2 separate regions of the Homo sapiens genome follow, and region 1 is linked to region 2. Evidence: promoter capture Hi-C in human tissues and cell types (Jung and others, 2019). All regions are on one chromosome and are shown on one strand. Each heading gives the region's core, a stretch centred on a gene start or on the middle of the fragment in contact. The rest is flanking DNA. Distances are from core to core; before and after follow the strand shown.

The links. Contacts are between HindIII fragments. The study calls those that stand out against the background at their distance.
Region 1: a contact is called between a fragment that was not itself captured here and the fragment with the promoter of F2RL3 in region 2, in 1 of the 25 tissues and cell types used here (spleen).

What each region holds. Positions count from the first base shown.
Region 1 is chr19:17,298,620-17,303,199 of GRCh38, forward strand. It overlaps ABHD8 (abhydrolase domain containing 8), which reads right to left. Exons shown (of 5, transcript NM_024527.5): 2 at 2,237-3,005. The coding sequence starts at 2,997. It also overlaps a transcript of MRPL34 not described here. Among named protein-coding and RNA genes, the nearest start is that of ABHD8, 2.5 kb to the right of the region's middle. RefSeq lists enhancers at 2,342-2,842, 2,843-3,343 and silencers at 3,701-3,995, 4,379-4,580. The HindIII fragment of the contact is 7,858 bases long and covers 1-4,580 here.
Region 2 is chr19:16,885,558-16,890,303 of GRCh38, forward strand. It overlaps F2RL3 (F2R like thrombin or trypsin receptor 3), which reads left to right and starts at 3,442. Exons shown (of 2, transcript NM_003950.4): 1 at 3,442-3,741; 2 at 4,016-4,746. The coding sequence starts at 3,633. RefSeq lists enhancers at 526-1,026, 4,117-4,716. The HindIII fragment of the contact is 19,143 bases long and covers 1-4,746 here.

The DNA of each region.
Region 1 (4,580 bases), core at 920-3,419, 410 kb after region 2:
TTGTGTAGTTGCATCCAGTGGGCAGAAGCCAGGGATGCTACTAAACATCCTATAGCCCCTCACAGAAAAAAAATAACCTGGCCAAACACGATAGTGCTGGGATTGAACAACACTGCTTTTTTTTTTTTTTTTTTTTTTTTGGGCAGAGTCTCACTCTGTTGCTCAGGCTGGAGTGCAGTGGTGTGATCTTGGCTCACTGCAACCTCTGCCTCCCAGGTTCAAGTGATTCTCCTGCCTCACACCCCCGAGTAGCTGGGATTACAGGCACACACCATCATGCCTGGTTAATTTTTTGTACTTTTAGTAGAGATGGGGTTTCACCATGTTGGCCAAACTGGTGTTGAACTCCTGACCTCAAGTGATCTGCCTGCTTTGGCTTCCTAAAGTGCTAGGATTACAGGCGTAAGCCACTGCACCTGGCCTGAGCAACACTGCTTTAGAACAATGTGAAACAATATCAGTGATGACGGAAATCCCTGTCTGATTACATATGCTAATGGGAGTTTTCAGCCTGGTATAGCGGCTCATGCCTGTTACCCCACCACATCGGGAGGCCAAGGAGGGAGGATGGCTTGAGCCCAGGAGTTCAAGACCAGCCTGGGCAACATAATGAGACCCCCCCCCCATTCTCTATATAATTTTTTTTTGAACTTGAAAATTGGCCTGGTGCGTTGGCTCACGCCTGTAATCCCAGCGCTTTGGGAGGCCGAGGAGGGCGAATCACGAGGTCAGGAGATCGAGACCATCCTGGCTAACACGGTGAAACCCCGTCTGTACTAAAAAGACAAAAAATTAGCCAGGCATGGTAGCGGGTGCCTGTAGTCCCAGCTACTAGGGAGGCTGAGGCAGGAGAATGGCATGAACCTGGGAGGTGGAGCTTGCAGTGAGCCAGGATCACGCCACTGCACTCCAGCCTGGGGGACAGAGTGAGACTCCATCTCAAAAAAAAAAAAAAAAAAAAAAATTAAGGCTGAGCACAATGACTCACACCTGTAGTCCTAGCACTTTGGGAGGCTGAGGTGCAAGGATCACTTGAGCCCAGTAGTTAAAGAACATCTTGGGCAACATAGTGAGATGCCATCTCTATTTAAAAGAAAAAAAAATTTTAAAAATGTAAAAATTAAATTGAAAAATGGGATTTTTTTCAAGGAGAAAAATTAGGATTTTTGTTTGCTTTGTTTTGTTTTAGGAGATAAGGTTTTGCCATGTTGTCCAAACTCATCTCCAATGATCCATCCACAAAGTGCTGGGATTACAAATGTGCACCACCGCGCGTGGTGGCCCCTTTTTTTTTTTTCATGACGGAGTCTCCTTCTGTCGCCCAGGCTGGAGTGCAGTGGCACAATATGATCTTGGCTCACTGCAAGCTCCGTCTCCCGTGCTCATGCCATTCTCCTGCCTCAGCCTCCCGAGTAGCTGGGACTATAGGTGCCCACCACCACACCCAGCTAATTTTTTGTATTTTTAGTAGAGACAGGGTTTCACCGTGTTAGCCAGGATGGTCTCAATCTTCTGACCTCGTGATCCGCCCGCCTCAGCCTCCCAAAGTGCTGGGATTACAGGCGTGAGCCACCGCGCCCGGATTTTTTTTTCTTTTTTAAAGAGCGACAGGTTCTTGCCATGCTGCCCAGGCTGGAGTGCAGTGGTGTGATCACAGTTCACTGCAGCCTCGACCTCCCAGACTCAAGCAATCTCCTGCCTCAGCCCTTAAGTAGGTGGAACTATATGCGTGCACCTCCTCACCTAGCTAATGTTTGTACTTTTTGTAGAGCTAGGGGGTTCTCCCTATGTTGCCCAGGCTGGTCTCAAACTCCTTGCCTCAAGATATCCTCCCGCCTTGGCCCCCGAAAGCACTGGGATTACAGGTGTCAGTGGCATCTCAGAGTCTCCCTCTGTCGCCCAGGCTGGAGTGCAGTGACACAATCTCGGCTCACTGCAACCTCCACCTCCTCGGTTCAAGTGATTCCTCTGCCTCAGCCTCCCGAGTAGCTGGGACTACAGGCGCGTGCCACCACGTCTGGCTAATTTTTGTATTTTTGGTAGAGACGGGGTTTCACCACCTTGGCCAGACTGTTCCCGAACTCCCAACCTCAGGTGATCCGCCTGCCTCGGCCTCCCAAAGTGCTGGGATTACAGGCGTGAGCCACGGGGCTCAGCCAAAAACTCAGTATTTTGTGACTGTAGTCCCTGCTGACCCCATCCCTCACCCCCACCCCACATGCCAGGGTTCACTTACCCGTAGGAATGGCCAATGAGCACATTTCGCTTCTTGGCATAGCGCTTGAAGATTGCTCGCATGTCCTCAGCCAGCGCATAGAAGGTGTAGGCTGCGGCCACCTGGGGCGCAGAGCTGGCCCCGTGGCCGGCCAGGTCAGGAGCCACCACCTCATAGCCTAGGCGCACAAAGAAGTCCAGCTGCTCCTTCCAGATGGCCAGGGAACCGCCGACACCATGGATGAAAAAGAGCACCACGTCGGCCTGGGCGCCTTTGCAGCTAGTGATGCGCTTCTCACAGTCAATATGGATGGTCCTCTTGGGGCGCCTGGCTCGCCGCCGCCGCCCACCACTGCCACTGCCGCTGCCGCTGCCTGCGCTGCCGGGGGCCAAGCGGCCATCGCTGCCCGCCGGATCTGCCAGCTCCACCTCCAGGGCGGCCGGCGGCTCCCCAGAGCCATTCTGCCCGTGTAGGAGGTCGGCTCGAGGGGCTCGGCCCAGGTTTTCCACCAGCAACCGCCCATTGCGGTACACGGTGATCCGGCGCTGACAGCGGACCAAGCCGGAGAGGTCCCCCTGGGCTGCATCCGAGGATGCGGATGATGGTGGAGGTGGGGCAGCGGCTGGGGCGGGTCCTGCATGCTTCACCCGCAGCACGCGGCCGGGCTTGACCTCTACAAAGGTGTAGCCATCGCTGGACTCGACGCTCTCCAGTGGCCCCACGGCGTTGGGGGGCGTGCCCAGCAGGCAACAGAAGATACCGTCGGTCACCCCGGTCAGCATGGTGTGTCCTGTGAGTGAGGACAGCAGCCAGTTCAGGTGCTGTCTCAATGAGAACCCTGCACCGTGCAGCAGGCACTCCCTGAGCCTTGGGAGAACTGTTTTAGACTCCAGTTTGGGGAGCGCCAGATCAAGTGAGCCACGGCACTGAGATTTTTTTGTTTGTGTGTGTGTGTGTGTGTGTGTGTGTGTGTGTTTTTGAGACAGTCTCGCTTTGTCATCCAGGCTGGAGGGCAGTGGCCGGATTTCGGCTTACTGCAACCTCCCCCTCCTGGGTTCAAGCGATTCTCTTGCCTCAGCCTCCTGAGTAGCTGGGATTATAGGCAGGTGCCACCATGTCTAGCTAATTTTTGTATTTTTTGTAGAGATGGGGTTTCACCATGTTGGCCAGGCTGGTCTTGAACTCCTGACCTCAAATTTTCCTCCTGCTTCGGCCTCCCAAAGTGCTGGGATTATAGGTGTGAGCCACCGTGCACTGACATGTTTTGTCTGAGCAGTGCCTTTGTGGTAGTTACCCTCCTGGGTCACCCTAGTCTATCCTCAGAGAGAAAGACTTGGCTATGGCTTACCCCACAGGGTGTCCACAGGGAAGGTGGTGGCGTCTTGTGTGGGGATGTTCCTGGAGAAGGGGACATTGTGGCAAATGTGGACCAGCCGGAAGACACCCCCTCCCCCCAGCTGGAGTTTATACCATTTATGGCCTCCTAACTCATTCATTCAGGTATACACTAACTCATCCATTCAGGTATACACTAACTCATTCATTCAGGTATACACTAACTCACTAACTCATCCAGGTATGCACTCACTAACTCACATATCCCCAGGGCCTCCTAAGGCATCTAAAATATGCAAATCTTTGGTGAGCCCCCAGTGAGGCTCCTGGCTCTGAATTTGACTCCTGAAAGGTGAGGCCCTAGGAGAGGGGGATGGGGACTGAGCCACAGAAAGCCTTGCTCAGCTCCCCTAGACCGGGGTGAGCCGGGGTCTGTTTCATAGAGGGCCAAGCTGAGGCCCAGACACTCTGAGAGGAAGCTAGACTCTGAACTTCCTCCTTGGCACCCTGGATTCTGGGGATCTGCTATACAAGTCCCCAGAGGTGGCGAAGAGGATGGGAGAGGCAGGGCCCTGGCTGGGGGCCTCCAAGCCTCCATCCCACTCCTTGGGCCACCCCCGCCCCCGTGTCCATGGCAACCACAGGCGGTTACATAACCTAAGGGGGGGATACCCGAGCAGTGCACCCCCATTGTCGAGGTGTCTAGGGCCTGGAGATGGGACCAGCTGCCTGCCTGCCCCCTACCCCAGGTTGGGCGCCGCTAAGGTAACGCACGCCCGAGACTGAGCCGCAGTGGCCCCAGACATACTGGAGGGGAAGCAGGCCATGCCCCCCACCTCGAGTGGGGCCCTAATCCCGGATTGTGGAGGGCAACGCACAGGCGCCACCCCAGCCCCGCTTCCCCGCCCCCGGCCCCCGCCTTCCAGGTGTTCGTCATCCCTGCAGCGGGGTCGAGCCCACTGGGGCTCCGTGGCTTCCTACGAGCCCAAACGCGGGGTTGGTGGACACCACTCCTCCGAAGTGGAGGCCC
Region 2 (4,746 bases), core at 2,192-4,691:
ACCTCCTGGGCTCAAGCAATCTTCCCACCTCATTTTTTGATTTTTTGTAGAGACAAGATTTCACTATGTTGCCCAGGCTGGTCTTGAACTCCTGAGCCCAAGCGATCCCTCTACCTCGGCCTCCCAAAGCACTGGGATTACAGGCATGAGCCACCACTCTGAAACAGCCCGGCCTGGCTGTCTGCCCTTTTTAAGAAAATAAGATTTTGGCCGGGCGTGGTGGCTCACGCCTGTAATCCCAGCACTTCGGGAGGCTGAGGCGGGTGGATCACCTGAGGTCAGGAGTTTGAGACCTGCCTGGCCAACATGATGAAACCTCGTTTCTACCAAAAATACAAAAATTAGCCAGGCATGGTGGCGGGTGCCTATAATCCCAGCTGCTCGGGAGGCTGAAGCAGGAGAATCGCTTGAATCCAGGAAGCAGAGGTTGCAGTGAGCCGAAATGGCACCATTGCACCTTCAGCCTGGGCAACAAGAGCGAACCTCCATCTCTAAATAAAAAATATTTTGGCCAGGTGCAGTGGCTCATGCCTATAATCCTAGTGCTTTGGGAGGCTGAGGCAGGTGGGTCACCTGAGGTCAGGAGTTTGAGACCAGCCTGGCCAACACGACGAAACTCCGCCTCTACTAAAAATACACAAAATTAGCCGGGCATAGTGGCAGGCGCCTGTAATCCCTGCTGCTGGGGAGGCTGAGGCAGGAGAATTGCTTGAATCCAGGAAGCAGAGGTTGCAGTGAGCTGAGATTGCGCCATTGCACTCCAGCCTGGGCGACTGATCGAGACTCCATCTTAAAAAAAAAAAAAGTTTTTATGGAAAGTAACACAGTGCACAGAAAACTCCAACAGTACAAAACAGACACATGGTTTCCTCTCCTCCAAAGCTGTCGCGCCCAGCGTCCTCCGGGAAGTACCTGGGCAGTGTCGCCTGGGTACAGCTTGTGCCTGACAGGGGCAATGTCATCGTCACCTCTGCTTGCTGGGGTTCCCCCGACAGCCTGTGCTGCCGTGTTGTTCCCGGGGAGGGGCTGTTGGCGGGCACCTCCCTGCTTTGTGCTGCTGTGTGGATATCCTCCCAAGGACATCTTCCTGTGCGTGTGTCTGGCAGAAATTCCTAGACATGGAACCCTTGAGTATAAGGGCATGTGCGTCACTATGTTTTTTTTTTTTTTTTGAGACGCGTTTCACTCTTGTTGCCCAGGCTGGAGTGAGGCTGGAGTGCAATGATGCAATCTCGGCTCACTGCAACCTTTGCCTCCCATGTTCAAGTGATTCTCCTGCCTCGCCTCCCGAGCAGCTGGGATTACAGGCATATGTCACCATGCCTAGCTAATTTTGTATTTTTACTAGAGATGGGGTTTCTCCATGTTAGTCAGGCTGGTCTCGAACTCCCAACCTCAGGTGATCCACCCGCCTCTGCCTCCCAAAGTGCTGGGATTACAGGTGTGAGCCACTGTGCCTGGCTTTTTTTTTTTTTTTTTTTTTTTTTTGAGTCGGAGTCTCGCTCCGTTGCCCAGGCTGGAGTGCAGTGGTGTGATCTCAGCTCACTGTAACCCCTGCGTCCTGGGTTCAAGAGATTTTCCTGCCTCAGCCTCCTGAGGAGCTAGGACTACAGACGTGCGCCACCATGTCTGGCTAATTTTTGTATTTTTAGTAGAGACGGGTTTTCACCATGTTGGCCAGGACGGTCTCGATCTCTTGACCTCGTGATCCACCCACCTGGCCTCCCAAAGTGCTGGGATTACAGGCGTGAGCCATTGCGCCCGGTCGTGCATCACTATTTTGATGCATCATCTTCAAACCACCCTGCCCCAGCATCACTGGACTGCCGGTGTGCCCAGCCTCCCCTGCACAGCTTCCCACTCTGCTCACAGAGAAGACGGTGGAGGGGGGAGCCCAGGCGTGGGTTTTCCGTGTGCTGAGGGTGTCCTCAGCCACCTTTTTCCCCAAGTCATTGACGTGAAGCTGATTTTCTCATTGGTGGCCATGGAAACTGCCCAGAAATGGGAGCAGGGCCTCTGAGACCCTGCCCCAGCTAGACTCTCTCTCCAGGCTTCAGTGTCTCCTCCTGGAGCTGGGTGTTGACTCTGTCCAAGACTCTGCTCAGTCACTTCCTGGCTGATCCCCGAGTGCTCAAGTGTGTGATGAGATTAGGGCTCCCCCAGGCAGGAAACGGCCACATTGGACCCCTCCCTCCCCCATCCCTAGTTCATTTTATTTTCCCCAATCCTCATGGCTCCCAACTAGGCCCTCCTGCTCCCAGACCCCCCCAAGCCCTGTCCCCCATCCCCTGTAGCCCAGCGCTGAGCACACTGGGGCCAGAACCACCCATACCAGACTCCCCCAGGGCACGACGGGTTGAGGCCTCTCTGAGGCAGGGAGGGACAACACTGAGGGGCCTTGTGCAGAAGAGGGAAGGGGTACCCCCCCGAGCTTCAGTTTCTTCATCTGCCCGATGAGCCCCCATCCAATGGTACCCAGGAGTGGGGATGTGCTGGGGCTAGAGGAGGGAGGCCCCCTGGAGGCTGGCTTGGGGACCCTTCAACCTGGCCACCTCACTCAGGGTCAGAGGTCAGAGCAGGCGAGCCACACACCCCGAAGTCCCCCCGGTCCTCGGCAGGTGCTGTCCCCAGCATCACTGTCTCCCCTACAGATGCCCGTGTGTCCCCTGGGCAAGAGTGAAGTGAGGCACTCATACAGGGGTGCCTTGTGAGTATGGGGTCAGCCGAGGATGCTGAGGGGCTCTCGAGGTTCAGCCAGAGTCCCTGACGCTGGGCTCGTGCTGCTCTGGGGGTCTGAAGGGACCCTCGCTATTACCCTCTGGGAGGCGCCCATCCTTGGTTTTTTTTTTTTTTTTTGCCGAGTCTCGCTCTGTTGCCCAGGCTGGAGTGCAGTGGCAAGATCTCGGCTCACTGCAACCTCCACCTCCTGGGTTCAAGCAATTCTCCCACCTCAGCCTCCTGAGTAGCTGGGACCACAGGCATCTGCCACCAAGCCCAGCTAATTTTTGTATTTTTATGAGAGATGGGGTTTCTCCATGTTGGTCAGGCCGGTCTCAAACTCCCAACCTCAGGTGATTTGCCTGCCTTGGCCTCCCAAAATGTTGGGATTACAGCCGTGAGCCACCGTGCCTGGCCTAGCAGGGCTCTTCTTATCCTGCTCACCAGAGATAGGAAGTCGGGGGGTGACTTCAGGAAAGGCCCAGAGCCCGTGATGGGCGTGGGGATTGGGGTGAGGACAGGGCTGTCGTGAGAACAGTGGCTGCAGATGTGAGCGGCTGGCAGGAAGTGGCCACTTGAACCGCAGATGCTTCCTGGGCTGGTCAGGGACCGGGGGTGCTGGCTGCAGCTGGGACCCCCCCCCCTGCATCTTGCTGGCCTGGCACCTGGGTCCCTGGGAGGCGCCACACTGGATATAGCCACGTGGGGCAGCCCGGTCTCCATAACCCACACTCCAGTCCTCCCACGGGCTGGCTGGCAAGCGGCCCTGGTGGGTCTGCGGGGGCAGGGGCAGCCTTCCTGGTTTATCTCTACCGGCGCGATCTGCTCGTCCGCCTCGGCTCCAGAAGCTGGGGCTCAGGGTCCGGCGAGGCAGGAAGCCTGAGGCCACAGCCCAGAGCAGCCTGAGTGCAGTCATGTGGGGGCGACTGCTCCTGTGGCCCCTGGTGCTGGGGTTCAGCCTGTCTGGCGGCACCCAGACCCCCAGCGTCTACGACGAGAGCGGGAGCACCGGAGGTGGTGATGGTGAGTGGTCCTGGCTTTGGGGTGCAGAGATGGGGTTACATCAGAGATGGAGCTGGGGGCCCGGAGCTGGGGAGGGGGAGGCCGGGAAGTTGCGGGCTTCAGCCCAGCCCACTCTGTATCCCGTCTCTGACCCCATAGGGCTGGGCTATTCCCTTGAGTGTCATGTCCAGCTGTTTCCCACCAGGGCAGACCCCAGGCTCTGAGCACCTCCCTCCCTGCTGCTTCTCGTCACCTGCCGAGGCAGGGGCTGACTGAGGTCCCCTCTCTCTCCCAGACAGCACGCCCTCAATCCTGCCTGCCCCCCGCGGCTACCCAGGCCAAGTCTGTGCCAATGACAGTGACACCCTGGAGCTCCCGGACAGCTCACGGGCACTGCTTCTGGGCTGGGTGCCCACCAGGCTGGTGCCCGCCCTCTATGGGCTGGTCCTGGTGGTGGGGCTGCCGGCCAATGGGCTGGCGCTGTGGGTGCTGGCCACGCAGGCACCTCGGCTGCCCTCCACCATGCTGCTGATGAACCTCGCGGCTGCTGACCTCCTGCTGGCCCTGGCGCTGCCCCCGCGGATCGCCTACCACCTGCGTGGCCAGCGCTGGCCCTTCGGGGAGGCCGCCTGCCGCCTGGCCACGGCCGCACTCTATGGTCACATGTATGGCTCAGTGCTGCTGCTGGCCGCCGTCAGCCTGGATCGCTACCTGGCCCTGGTGCACCCGCTGCGGGCCCGCGCCCTGCGTGGCCGGCGCCTGGCCCTTGGACTCTGCATGGCTGCTTGGCTCATGGCGGCCGCCCTGGCACTGCCCCTGACACTGCAGCGGCAGACCTTCCGGCTGGCGCGCTCCGATCGCGTGCTCTGCCATGACGCGCTGCCCCTGGACGCACAGGCCTCCCACTGGCAACCGGCCTTCACCTGCCTGGCGCTGTTGGGCTGTTTCCTGCCCCTGCTGGCCATGCTGCTGTGCTACGGGGCCACCCTGCACACGCTGGCGGCCAGCGGCCGGCGCTACGGCCAC